Linked DNA regions of Homo sapiens: regions 2, 3, 4 and 5 are each linked to region 1. Evidence: promoter capture Hi-C in 16 types of primary human blood cells and fetal thymus (Javierre and others, 2016). All regions are on one chromosome and are shown on one strand. Each heading gives the region's core, a stretch centred on a gene start or on the middle of the fragment in contact. The rest is flanking DNA. Distances are from core to core; before and after follow the strand shown.

Region 1 (2,619 bases), core at 40-2,539:
CACCTTGGGGTCGTCCTCCACCTCTTCTTCGGGCTCCATGGTCTTCAAAGGCCTCAGATGCGCCTGGGGCCCCAGGGAGGAGAACGGGATGCCGGTCTCGGCCGCCCCCACCAATTGATCCATGATCGGCTTGGCCAGGGCGCCCGGCAGCGAGAGCGCCGCCGCGCCGTTGGGAGGCAGCGTCAGCGCGGGGAAGAACGGCGGCTGGTGACCCAGCACCGCGCTCATGGCGAAGTCCGGCGCCCGGTGAGGTAGGAACGGATGGTAGGCCATGCTTGTCCCAGGAATGACCGGATCTCTCATGGAGAGGCTCATCCACTCCAGGCGGGGCGCTGGGCTCCAGCCGGGGACAAGTCCGCAGCTGCTGTGTTTTGTTGTTTTTTTGTTGTTGTTTAACAGCAGCACATAATTCAAAAGGGGGGAAAAAGCAAAACAAAAAAGAAAGAAAAAAGAAAAGGAGGCAGAAATCACAACTAATGCACTTCAAAGGGAGGAGGGGAAGTGTCTTTTGGAGAATGGGAGGCCGCTTTTAAAGAGGGCAAGGCGAAAAATCAGCAAACATAGTCGCGCGGGTGACCGTCCTTGTGCCTTGCGTTTTTAAAAAGCCGCTCCTGAACGTCGGTTTCAGAAGCGAGAGGAGCGAGCAGGGTCTCGACTCGCGCCCGAGCCCTGCCGCTGAGCTCGAAATAGACACTCCAGCCCTGCGTCCCAGGAATCTCTCTCCAGCCCCTAGGTCTTTTGTTGCAAATGTGAAAGGTTCTCCTAGAAGACTTTTTACCTTTCTTTTTCTTCTTCCCCCGCCCCCTATCTGTCTTCCTCTCCCTCTTTCTCGCTGGTGGCGTCTGCAGCTGTGCTAGACCCGGCTTTAACAGGGAGCGAGAGAGCGGAAAAAGTCTCTCTCCTTTAAAAAAAAAAAAATCTGATTTAAACCCCCTTCTACCAGCGCTATCAAAACTTGAATTGCAAACTGGCTTCCGTTCGCCGCCCTCCTCCTCCTTCCTCTGCTCCGAGCCTCCGGAGGGTGTCTCGGTTTCAATCCAAATCTTGCTGGGCTCTTCTCCCGTGCCTCTCTCTCTTCCTTGTCCTAAAACGTGAGCGAATTCGCTTCCTAAATCTGTGTCCAGGCGCGCAGGGCAGGGAGGATTTAGAGGGGGAAAAAATGGAACAGAGGGAAAGAGAGGGAGGGGAGAGAGAGAGAGAGAGAGAGAGACGGAGTCGGAGAGGGAGGGAGCGAGAGAAAGCGAGAGCTCCTCGCCACCCTCCGCCGCCTCTAGAATTCACCGGGCGTCTGCTCGGCGGCTCTAGAAGGTCGGGCTGCGCTGTGGGCTGCGGGGAGCCGGAGGCCTCTTGATTGGCTCTTTGACGCTTTCGGACCAATTGTGTTGCTGCATAGGCGTGGTTTTCACAGGTCGAGTGCTGGGGGATAGAGCTGAGTTATAAAAAGAAGGTGTCGGAAACTGTAACGTCGCAGCGCCGCATCGGTACTACTGCCTGTCCTGTGAATATGTCAACATGATCAGAGGGCGGGCGGGAGCCACTGGGGAGCGCGCGCGCACAGAGTCGCCTCTAGGTGGCTTATCGAGAGATCGCTGCAGCCCCTGAGCTCGCTCGCTCGCTCTGGTTCAGCCCACGTCTGAAATGCCTCAGTCATCCAGCCGGGGATCGAGGGAGGAGGCAGGGCCAAGGAGGAAGGGGGAGGGAGAGAGGGAGGGAGCCAGCGAGCAGGCGAGCCGGGCGGGGAAGGCGGAGAGCGCGCCCGGGCGCCGGGCAGGGGCGCTCGCCTCTCTTGCACTCCGCTCGCCTCTCCGACCGCCGCGGCCGGTTCTCTCTCCAGCTCTCCTTCTTCTCCCCGCCCCGGGCGAGCCGGGCGGGTGGCCGAGCCTCCCCGCGAGCTGCCATCCGGCCACTCGGTTCTACAAAAGCCGGCGGCAGCCGAGAAGCGAGCGCCGAGACTCCAGGCTTGCGTGCTCTCCAGCCCCACGTGGAGCCAAGCTCCGCCCGGCCGCCGCTGAAGGGCTCCCGAGCTCGGGTGTCTCGGTGCTGGTCTCCCCTGCGTCTGGGCTGGGGGAGCACAAGGATGCGGCCATATCTCAGCACACGCATGTGTGGGCTTCCTCTCCACTGCGCCCCACCCGCAGCCATGTGCGGGTACCCAAACACCCCCGGTGTATCTGTACTCGAACACGCGCCAACACACTGGGACTGAAACACACACCGAAAAACACGTACACACAAACACGTACACAGCCTGCGCGGCTGGCCCTGCCTGAGCTCCTGGGGAAGATGGATTTGGGATTTTTATGAAATGCATTTACCAGCCCTTTTGGATCTCGTCTTTCATTTGCATGCGGGCCCCCATATTCCACCTGGATGTGGGTGTGGGTGTAGAGAAGAGAATGGAGGATCTGGACAAAGCGAGCACAGCGAGAGACTGGGTTCTGAGCCTGTCCCCTCCAAGCCGCTGCCCTCACCTCGAGGCCCGGCTGGGTGCACAGCACAGGGTAAGGGGTGGGCGATTGGGTTGGGGGAGGCGCGCCAGCCTGGTATCTTCTCTAGGCATCGCACTTATCTCTCGGTGCCTCAGTTCTTTCTCCACCCCGGGGACTTAATCTGGCCAGA
Region 2 (2,619 bases), core at 58-2,557, 1.1 Mb after region 1:
GATTCCTTAGAGCTCCAACAAAGCTTAGGCTCTTCCTGCCTCTCCAGCATCATCTTCCCCAGCCCCCATTCACCTCCAGCCAGGCTGAGAACCAGGGGCCTCCTGTACATGCATGTCCTTATTGTACATGCTGTTCCCCCAGCCTGGCAAGCTCCCACGTGTCCAACTTACCCTCCTCCACCTCCTCCACAAATCCTCAGTTTACCCCCAAATCTAGCTGGGAGTCCCAGCCACAAGCACCCTGAGCATCCTGTCTATAACTCCCTTGCCACTTCCGTCGCATACATTGTATTGTGTTTTGAGGTGTCTCTCTCATCTGCTGGACATGGTACCTCATTCATCCTTGAGTCTCCACCTTTGAGAAAAGATTCTACTCATAGTAGATGCTCAATAACTACTTGTGGCTTGCACAGAAGAACCAGCGACCTGTTTGATTATATGTCATCCTCACTTTAGCCTCTGAAACAAGTGTAGACGTATAATTGCTAGCAGGCTGTAGCAGGCTGGTTCAGCAGACCTGGGTTGGGAACTCTGATCCACCTTTTATCAGCTGTGACATTGGGTAATTCAGTCTTTTGAGTATCAACTTTCCCATCTCTGAAAGTGGTAGTATGCACCACTTCTTATGTCTGTGGTGAGGATTAAATGAGAAATTCTAGTGCATATTCGATGAGGGTTAATCATTATTTTTTATATTCTCTGCAATCAACTAAATGGTTACCATGTCCAGAAAGCTAGGGATTCCTGTCTACGGATTCCCATCTACGGATTCCCTGATGTATCCCAAATGCCTATCACAGTGCCTGGCACATAGCAGGTGCTCAATAAACATTTGCTGAAGAAATAAACAACCTGGTATTTCTAGACTGAGGGAGAAGCTCCCTGTATTCCTAGAATTTTTAGTTTCAACTGTAGAATTCTCAAGATATCATTTCCCCATTCCCAGAGACACTGATTTGGCAGAGTTTGGGTGGAGCCCAGAGACCTGCCTGTGAATGGGTTTCCCATGATCACTCAGTTCTCCATCATTTAGGAACCTTGACACCAGATGATTCAAGTCTCATTACCTCCTCCTTTTCTCACCTCACCACTATCCCTTTCCAGTTGCAGTCATCTAAAAGCCCAATCTTGGTATCAGTAATGATCATTGTGCTGGGGCTAATATTATTTTTGTGAGGCACAGAAACCCAGCAAAGGCTTTTAAGTGAATACTTGGTAATAGAACAATCAAGTTAAAAGATCAGTGTGACACAGAGCATGAAATAGGAAAGTATCGTGGTCAATTGATTTGGACCACACTTACGGGTTTGTGAAATGAATTTCATTTTCTGGACCAAATGGAAGCCCTGCTTATAAATCACTGCCGGTCTTGGAGATTAATAAAGGAAACAGGCTTGATTAAGAATTCAGAGCATTGGTCCCATTGCAGATTTATAGACCCAGAGGTCTTGCCACAGAGATTTCAAGAGGCCCCACCTGTTAAGTGTCATTTAGGAAGATTAACCCCAGGGCTTCTGGCTAAGAATTGAGGACAGGGCCTGAGCCCTGCCTGGGATGGAAGGTAGATTCTAGGAAATGCATTTCTCCATGCTTTTCTAACCCTCCCAGAAAGTTCACAACTCATGTGCCCTTTGATATAACATTGTGTAGAATTTTTCCTAGATTCTGGACAGATGGAAATTTTTATTTAAAACCCCTTCTGCATCTATCTCTACCAAAACTTGGCAGAGCAGAGTTGACTCAAGATTGGAAATTAAAAACAAGACAAATGCAACAGTGCGGGGGTAGTAAAGGCGTTTAATTAAATCAACTAAATGTAAAAGATCTCCATCCATTCTCTGATGCTTGCATAACCCTGCACATGGAGAGGTTTGCATCTAGTGCTGAGACGTTTGGCATTTGAGAATATTTTTGAAATTCCTCATCTGTCAGAAGCTGATGTTGGCCAGGCATGGTGGCTCACACCTCTAATCCCAGCACTTTGGGAGGACAAGGCAGGTGGATCACTTGAGGCCAAGAATTTGAAACCGGCCTGGCCAATATGGAGAAACCCTGTCTCTACTAAAAATACAAAAAATTACCTGGGCGTGGTGGCACTCACCTGTAGTCCCAGCTACTTGAGAGGCTGAGGCACAAGAATCGCTTGAACCCAGGAGGTGGACGTTGCAGTGAGCCGAGATTGCACCACTGCTCTGGGCAACAGAGTAAGACTTTGTCTAAAAAAAAAAAAAAAGAAAGAAAGAAAGCTGATGTTAAAGACCAAAAAGAGAGAGCAGAGCTTGTGAAGCCAGTGTTAGGAGAAGGGACAGGACCACTTTAACAAGTTTGTTGGGACAGAGCCAACTCATGTATTTTGGTGAAATGTCACGGTTTGGGACCCAGTATTTGCAAAAGTGTGCTCTGCAAACCAGAAGTTATGTTATTTTAGCATTCCACTCTATAATATTATTGGCCCTGATGGTTTCAAATCCAGCACAAGTTAGAAGTCAGAATGGTGTTACTAATGTCCAGAAGGGAGCGTGAGGTGGGGTTCTGAGGTGTCGCTAGTGTTCAGCAACTCGATCTGGATACATTCAGTTTGTGAAATTTTATCAAGCTTTACAATGAACATTTTCACTT
Region 3 (2,619 bases), core at 32-2,531, 1.1 Mb after region 1:
TACATGGGAAAGGGCTGGCAAGCCGAAGCACTCACCATCTTTCTTTTTCTTTCCTTTTTCTTTTTCCCTCTTTTTCTTTTTCTTATCTGTTTCCTTTTCCTTTCACTTTCATTCTTTTCCTTTTTTTCTTTCCTTCTTTTTCATTTCCTTTTTGCCTTCCCTTCCTCCCTCCTCCTTATCCTTCCTTCTTTCCTTTTTTTCTTCTTTGTTTTATGTGTTTTTCAACATTTACTGCACACCTCTTTTGTACCAAACCCATATTAAGCATCAAATAAAGCATGGTCTCAACCCACTATGCATGGTGGCTCACACCTGTAGTCCCAGCAATTTGGGGGGCTGAAGCAGGAGGATCGCTTGAGCCCAGAAGTTCGAGACCAACTTGGGCAATATAGCAAGACCCTGTCTCTACAACAATAAAAATTTAAAAAATAGCCAGGCATGGTGGTGCACACCTATAGTCCTAGCTACTTGGGAGACTGAGGCCAAAAGATCACTTGCGCCCAGGAGTTCAAAGTTGCAGTGAGCTATGATTGTCCCACTGCACTCCAGCCTGGGAAACAAAGCACGATTTTGACTCTACAAAAAAGAAAATGGTCACAATATATTTCACCAAGGATAGAAAAGGAATACTAATAGAGCATGCAATGACATGACAGCAGGAAAATTACAGCTGGGAGGATCTGTGAGCATGGAGCACTTCCTGTTTATGCTGGAGCCCCAATAACTGTTACCTGTACATTTTGATGGTATATCCAATCAGTGAAATAGTTTTACTATGCACCCATACTACACATATGCTTAGTTTATAAATGATATATTTGTGCAAACCCACAATCCTTTATTCAAAACTCTTGGGTCCAGAGGTGCTTCAGAAATGAGAATTGTTTTGGATTTTAGGAAGAGAAGCTGGTGTGTATATTGAATATTAGTTAACATCCCCATGGAGATATGGGTTAGCACTCTAAACACACACAGAGAAAGAGACAAATATGATCAGTTACTCTAAAGAGAATAAATACTCTCAATGTCCTCATATCTATTCAGATCAGGTATTGCCAAATAAGTGTATCTCAAACTTACCACAAAAACTTAACTTTCAGCGGTTTATAGATTTTAGGTTTACAGACAATGGATTGTGGACCTGTGCTTCTATTATTGGTTAATGTCCCAAAGTATGCTATGTACTGTAGGTAAGATTTATCTTTAGGAATTGTGGCTATAAACCCATATTTCAAATGGTCTTCTTGATAATTTTTAAGATTTTGTCCAGGCCTTAAACTAGGCATTAGAGACATGTCAGTTCTGCCATGTTATTTGTTTGCATTTATGTATCGTCCTGGTTTTACTTCTTCTTTGTTTGTAAGTACTTTCTTGTTTGCAATAGTATCTTTTTAAACGACTTTCAATACTCAGTTATTTTACAGGCATCTTTTCTAAGTTATGATGCCATAGGTTGTTTAGCTGTGGGCACTAAATGCATATCAGCACCCATCAGCTGACATTAGCTCCAGAGGTGACAACCAGCTGAGGAAACACTTTAGAGATGTGATCCCCCTCCCCAACTCTCCTTCCCAAACCAGGCAAGTAGGCAGAGCTTGCAAGGAGGGGGCTCAGCAGGCTCATGTTCAAATCCTGGCTCCACTGCTTGTTAGCAATGTGATCTTGGGTGACTTACTTCACCCCCTGTGCCTCAGTTTTACCATCTGTAAAACGGGGATAGCAGGAGTACCTACCTCAGAGGGTTGTTGCTAGGACTCAGTGAGACCGTGGCCAGAACACCTGGCAGAGAGTAAGTGCTCAATGCACAACAGCAGACTCTACTATTGTCATGCACTTTATCCAGTTGTTTCTGACTGCTTTTGAGGAATGCTTCCTCCACTTTTAGTGTCTTCTTAAGTCACGTTAAGGGCTACCCAGCAAAACCCACTTGATTTAGAGAAGAGCAAACTGAAGTTCCAAGAAGGTGAGTCATTATGGGGAGATGGCAGAAGGGGAAGGTGATGGTTTCCATGCCATTACCTTTTCCACTGATGAATTCTGAATACCAGCAAAATTCAATCAGAACACTTCATAGATTCTACTCTCCATCTGCCTTAGTCAGAACTGTTTTTGTGGAAGTAACAGAAGTCCAACTCAAACTGGCTTAAGCAAAAAAAGCAGAACCTATTAGCTCAATTACCTGAAAAGTCTAGGAGCAGACAGGATTCAGGCATGGCTGGATCCAGGGGCTCAAGTGAAATCATTAGATTATGATACCTCCTCCACTGCCCCCTTATCTTGGAGTCCTATTTTTATTCATCCTCAAGAAAATTCTCTCTGCAGCTCTTATAGTAGCTCTAGCCTTATGTCCTCTCAGATCCAACTCTTCTAAACAGAGAGCACTTCTTTGCCAACAGTTCCACAGGTCCTAGGATGCAATCTCAGTAGACTGGGATGTTAAGTTATGACTGGCCCTATAAAGCAGGCCTCACAGCAAAGATGTAGATAAGGAGACATGACCCCAGTGCTGTGTTCAAGGCCTAGAATGTCAGGGCTTGTGGATGTGGCTTCTGAGTTACAGAATTACTGCCTTATGTGTAATAAATCCTGATCCTGACTGCTGACTTGGTAGACTATAAA
Region 4 (2,619 bases), core at 35-2,534, 1.1 Mb after region 1:
CTCATTTCTTTTTTCCAGGCTATTACATTTTTTGTTGTCCTTTAAAACCAGAGGAAACACTGGGAGTTCTCCTTTTTAAATAACTGTGCCATCTCTTAGAGAGAAAATGGAAAATCCCATAGTTAGATGTCCTTCTTTAGGGTTTATTTTGCCTCTATTACTTCAGGTTTCAAATTAGACAGTAAATTTGCCAAAATCAATAGAGAGAAGAAAGATGTCTTTCTTTAGAAGAACGGATGACATGTTTTTATTTGTAATATTCTCAGGAAGTATGTCGATAACATGCAAAAATCAAATACTCTCTTTCCAACTGCACCATGTAGGAGTTTTCCTAGATGGCCATCTACGTAAATTTTGACAAATATATGAAAAGTAATACACATTGCATATATACACGTGCATGTTTTGATCTGTTATCCTCAAAAGCACCCACCCTGAAGAAGACACATTCACTAGTCGGATGTGTATAAGCTTTCTACACTGAACAAGTCTTTGGGATTCTAATAGTTTCTTTTGTTTGTACTTTGCTCAGACTTTCAGAGGCATCTACAAATTCCAGATCTTTCTTCAAGGGGAGGACTTGGTTAATATTTCCTAGTATTTTCAGCCCCTTCGTTGATTTCCTTCCTTTCTAGTATTTTTAGTTCCTGAGATAAAACCTCATTTATAATAAAGTCAAAATCCCTGGAAAACATTTCGTCAATGAAACATCCAGCTTTGCTATTCATTATTTCATTGAATGAATGTTTTTTCCTTGAAACCTGATGGCCCAACTCTGATTATTTAAAGGCAGACACAAAACTAGAATTGTGTCTAGTTTTTTAATATTTAATACGTAAAACTCTTCTTTAAAATATTTGTACTTTGCCATAAAATGGCCTATTCAAAGGCACAAATTTGCTAGGACCAAATCATTCAATTTAGGAATAATCGTATGTCAGCACCAGACCCAATGTTGGCAGATCCTATTTAATTTATCTCTCAGCCTCTTTTTTTTTTTTTTTTTTTATCATTGCAGGTTATTCATGATCCCTAGTCTAAAATGTTGAAATTTCAAAGCATGACTGAAAACATTTTAAATGAAGACTAGTCAAATAAGAAGCACTATTTCTTTATAGGGTCCTTTCATTATTTCCCCCAGAAATTTGGGGAGGTTTCTGCAATCACCATACATTCGAAATACCAGCTGCTAATTTCCACATAATTTTCTGCCCTGTTTAAAAAGGATTTTTTTGTTGTATGGATTTAGTGGGGTTAGGATTGAGATAGCGTGTGTGTTTGCACGCTCGCATGCAGAAAGATAGAGAAAAAGAGAGCGCACATAAGTAGTTTTGCTTTGAAGTCCCTACATAATTACTGTTAAGATCTATCAAAATGTACCGAGACAGCTCTCCTTGCTGAAATCTGATGAACAAAAAGGCAAGCAACGTCCAGGAAGACTGTAAAAGAATGGATCAAATTAAGAGCAAGAACAAATGCAACCAAGGTAGACTGAAAGATGTTGTGGTTTCTGTCGTTGTTTATGTGTAGGGAGGAATTAGAAATGAGAAGGAAAGACAGATGGGGGAAGAAAGCAAGGGAGAGAGAAGTTGAAGGAAGGCAAAATGGAAAAGAAAGAGGAAAACATTTATGGGGGGATGATAAAGAGAAAAGGAAGGAAAGAAGGGAGGGAAGGAGAGAAGGAAGGGAAGAAGAAAGAAAGAGAAACATTTACAGAGTTGTGGGCAGGAGAGCTGTTTTATCTTTGTGTGTTTTCTAATTCAAAGCTGTATGTCCTTGGTGCCGAAATTAAACATTACATATGGAACACAGAAAGAAAAGGGGAGAAAGAGTGGGTTTCCCTTTTTCATTTCCTTTGTTGGAATACTGGTTTGGAACATCTAAAGAGAAAATGGTTGCAATGTTGCAGAATTTTTCTTCTTTCAGTAATGATCAAACTAGCAGCTGCTTTCAGCAAAAGTTCTTAATGTCACAGTGCTCCCTGGAGTATTGCCTAGAAGGGACCCTAACGTCAACCTTTTAACTTCCCTTCCTCACTCTACTTGTTTTTCTTACAATGGGGGGAGGAAGGGATAGGAAAAATTTTAAACAGTCTCAGAAGCTTTTGAAGAGCTGCCACTGGCCAGGGGAAAGGAGGATTTCGAGAAATAACTTCCGATTTATTTCAGATAGTTAGGAGAAGGGGGAAAAGGGAATAAGACCTTTCTCTTCATTTTTGTCTCCCCCCCGCCCTTACCCCCTTAATCCTATTTTAGTTGAGGTCTGACCTTGGAAATTTCCAAAGGACTTTAATCTCCTGTACTTCAAATTGCTAAAGGGAGCTGAAAGAAAGAGTGCTGCATGTGGGTAAAGGTGGTTTAAAATGGTTTATTTATGAATGGTTTAGGCTTTCCTGATAGTAAGAATGTTAACTAGTTCGTTAGGCACTCTCTGTAAATATAAACCTTTTTCAAAAAATTTATTTCCTCCTTTTTTTTTCCTTCAGACAAAATGCATTCAATCATTAAACCTCAGCGGAGAAAAATGATCTTAAGCCTCCTGCCCCTGGGCAGATCTGACACACTCAAACGTTAATATTCTCAGATAGCTTGGAAATGCCATTTGGTGCTTTCTATAACT
Region 5 (2,619 bases), core at 39-2,538, 1.1 Mb after region 1:
GCAAGTGTTTTTAACCTGAGATCTGCAAAACCACAAGAGGCCAGGGTTGAAACTCAATGGCTCTGTGATTTTTTTTATCCAAAAAAAAACCAAAAAAAAACAAAAAAACAAAAAACAAAAAAACTATATCTTTATTTTTCTTAACCTCTAACCAAAATTAGCATTTCCATCAATAATGAAGGTAGATAGCAAATCACAATGGTATTAATGGTCCCTGTGAATTTGCCATCCGTAGAAACCATAAATATTTTTATGTTGCATTTCAATTGTCAGAGAAACCTCAAAATAACATGTGCGCTCATCACCATTTTGAGTTATCCTAATCATCAGATGAATTAGACTAGACCTAGTTACTTGATGAATTAACTTAAAAACACATATTTTTATAACTTATAGTTGTGGCATTGTGGTTTCTTTAATCTTACTACAGCATTTAAATATAGTCATGCATTGCTTAATGATGGGGATCTGTTCTGAAAAATGTATCTAGGCAGTTGTGACATTGTGCAAACATCACAGAGTACGCTGACACAAACCTAGACGGGACAGCCTACTACACACCTAGGCTGTAGAGTATAGCCTATTGCTCCTAGGCTACAAACCTGTACAGCATGTTACTGTACTGAATACTATAGGCAATTGTAACACAAAAGGGAAGTATTTGTATATCTAAACATAGAAAAGGAATTTTTATACTGTAATAAAATTACAGTATAAAAGGAATAAATAAAAGGAATTTTATACTGTAATAAAATTACAGTATAAAAGACGTATGATTTATAATCCTTTGGGTATATACCCAGTAATGGGATTGCTGGGTCAAATGGTATTTCTAGTTCTAGACTGGACAAAGAAAATGTGGCATATATACACCATGGAATACTATGCAGCCATAAAAAAGGATGAGTTCATGTCCTTTGCAGGACATGGATGAAGCTGGAAACCATCATTCTCAGCAAACTGTCACAAGAACAGAAAATCAAACACTGAATGTTCTCACTCATAAGTGGGAGTTGAACAATGAGAACACATGGACACAGGGAGGGGAACATCACACACCAGGGCCTGTCAGCGGGTGGGAGGCTAGGGGAGGGATAGCATTAGGAGAAATACCTCATGTAGTGATGGGTTGATGGGTGCAGCAAACCACCATGGCACGTGTATACCTATGTAACAAAACTGCACGTTCTGCACATGTACCCCAGAACTTAAAGTAAAATAAAAAAAATTTTTTTGAGATATAAACTTATATACCTGTATAGGGCGCTTACCATGAATGGAGCTTGCAGGACTGGAAGTTGCTCTGGGTGAGTCAGTGAGTGAGTGGTGAGTGAATGTGAAGGCCTAGGATATTACCGTGCTCTACTGCAGACCTTATAAACACAGTACACTTAGGCTATGCTAAATTTATTTTTAAATTTCTCCTTTCTTAAATAATAAATTAACCTTAGCTTATTAGATGACCTCCACAGTATATTTGGTCCATTGTTGACTGAAGGTCTTTATGCAGCACATGATCGTATAATTGATATCCTTTGTAATTCTATGTATATGCTATGCATTTAGAAATAGTTTCTCCAAACTACAAAAGGGGTTCATCATACATCGAAAGTTAAGAGTCCTGCCATATAGTAAAGATTTTCTTATGCTCTGCCTCCCCACTTATAAACCACCCTTGCTTGGTCCACACTCTTTGTTCTGCCTCTCTTCCAAGAAGTGAGTGGTCTACAAAGGCCCTAATGACTGCAGCCATGGGATCTGGTCAACTCCAGTTTAGCTCCCCCAGTCAGCTGTTAATTATGTTCCTACTTTGTCCCAGGCTCTGTGCTAGGGACATATAAATATCTATGTATATATTACCTTTAATCTTCACTAGATGGCACATGTTATCTACATTTTCTAAAACTAGGAGTTTAAAGTTCAGAGAGATAAAGAAATGTACCTAAGTGCAGATGCCAAGTAGTTGTGCAGCTGATGTTCCCTAAATTTGCCCATTTGATCTTTGCAGCATTGGCGAATTGGCAGCAGCATAATCACATGGGCCTAAAATTAAAAAGGGAAATGGCTCCGCTTTCTCCATCCCCTACCATTAGAATCCGCTTAAACCCAACCTGAAGGGATAAAGAAAGAACTCCATACAAACAGCACTCACTTGGGACCACCTCTCTTAAGTTAGATTTTTTTATACCCACCTTCTTGGATAAGGTATCCCAACTCAGCCAGTTATCCAGATGTCAAAGTCAGAAACCTAAGAATTATTCTTGACATCTCCCTCTTCCTTAGCCCTCACATGCTCTATCCCAAGTCTTTGCCATCTACTTCATTTCTGACATCCACTCACTTCCCCCTCATCCACTTAATCCAAGCTACCACGCTCCTATGCCTGGACTATTGCAATGTCCTTTCCCCAAAACTGGCCTTCCAGCTTCCATTCATGTTCCAGTCTAGTCTCCACCCCACCACTCAAGTGCTCTATCTGATCACGTCAGATACTTAGTGTGGTTATGTGATAAATGTCTGAGCCCCTGGATTCTACGGTGCCTGAAGCCAGATACCTTTGGGTGTTTCCATTATATAAGCCCAAAGTTTCCCTCTACTTAAGCCATTTGTATTTAGCTC

What was found. Contacts are between HindIII fragments. The CHiCAGO score rates a contact against its expected background, and 5 or more counts as called.
Region 2: a fragment that was not itself captured here is called in contact with the fragment with the promoter of TBX3 in region 1 in 1 of 17 cell types (total B cells); the score reaches 5.4 in total B cells.
Region 3: a contact is called between a fragment that was not itself captured here and the fragment with the promoter of TBX3 in region 1, in 1 of 17 cell types (M2 macrophages). The highest score is 6.2, in M2 macrophages.
Region 4: a fragment that was not itself captured here is called in contact with the fragment with the promoter of TBX3 in region 1 in 8 of 17 cell types (M2 macrophages, endothelial precursors, M1 macrophages and 5 more); the score reaches 21.9 in M2 macrophages.
Region 5: a fragment that was not itself captured here is called in contact with the fragment with the promoter of TBX3 in region 1 in 2 of 17 cell types (M0 macrophages and M2 macrophages); the score reaches 7.4 in M0 macrophages.

What each region holds. Positions count from the first base shown.
Region 1 is chr12:114,682,886-114,685,504 of GRCh38, forward strand. TBX3 (T-box transcription factor 3) reads right to left here and starts at 1,290. Exons shown (of 7, transcript NM_005996.4): 1 at 1-1,290. The coding sequence starts at 315. All of the region lies in intron 1 of TBX3-AS1 (TBX3 antisense RNA 1), which reads left to right. RefSeq lists a promoter at 1,292-1,801. The HindIII fragment of the contact is 4,535 bases long and covers 1-2,619 here.
Region 2 is chr12:115,795,516-115,798,134 of GRCh38, forward strand. No RefSeq gene overlaps it. Among named protein-coding and RNA genes, the nearest start is that of LINC02463, 89 kb to the right of the region's middle. The HindIII fragment of the contact is 2,573 bases long and covers 22-2,594 here.
Region 3 is chr12:115,776,480-115,779,098 of GRCh38, forward strand. No RefSeq gene overlaps it. Among named protein-coding and RNA genes, the nearest start is that of LINC02463, 110 kb to the right of the region's middle. The HindIII fragment of the contact is 8,845 bases long and covers 1-2,619 here.
Region 4 is chr12:115,753,905-115,756,523 of GRCh38, forward strand. All of the region lies in intron 1 of LOC105370003 (a long non-coding RNA gene), which reads right to left. Among named protein-coding and RNA genes, the nearest start is that of LINC02463, 130 kb to the right of the region's middle. The HindIII fragment of the contact is 1,630 bases long and covers 470-2,099 here.
Region 5 is chr12:115,734,640-115,737,258 of GRCh38, forward strand. The region is part of intron 1 of LOC105370003 (a long non-coding RNA gene); the gene reads right to left. Among named protein-coding and RNA genes, the nearest start is that of LINC02463, 150 kb to the right of the region's middle. The HindIII fragment of the contact is 5,033 bases long and covers 1-2,619 here.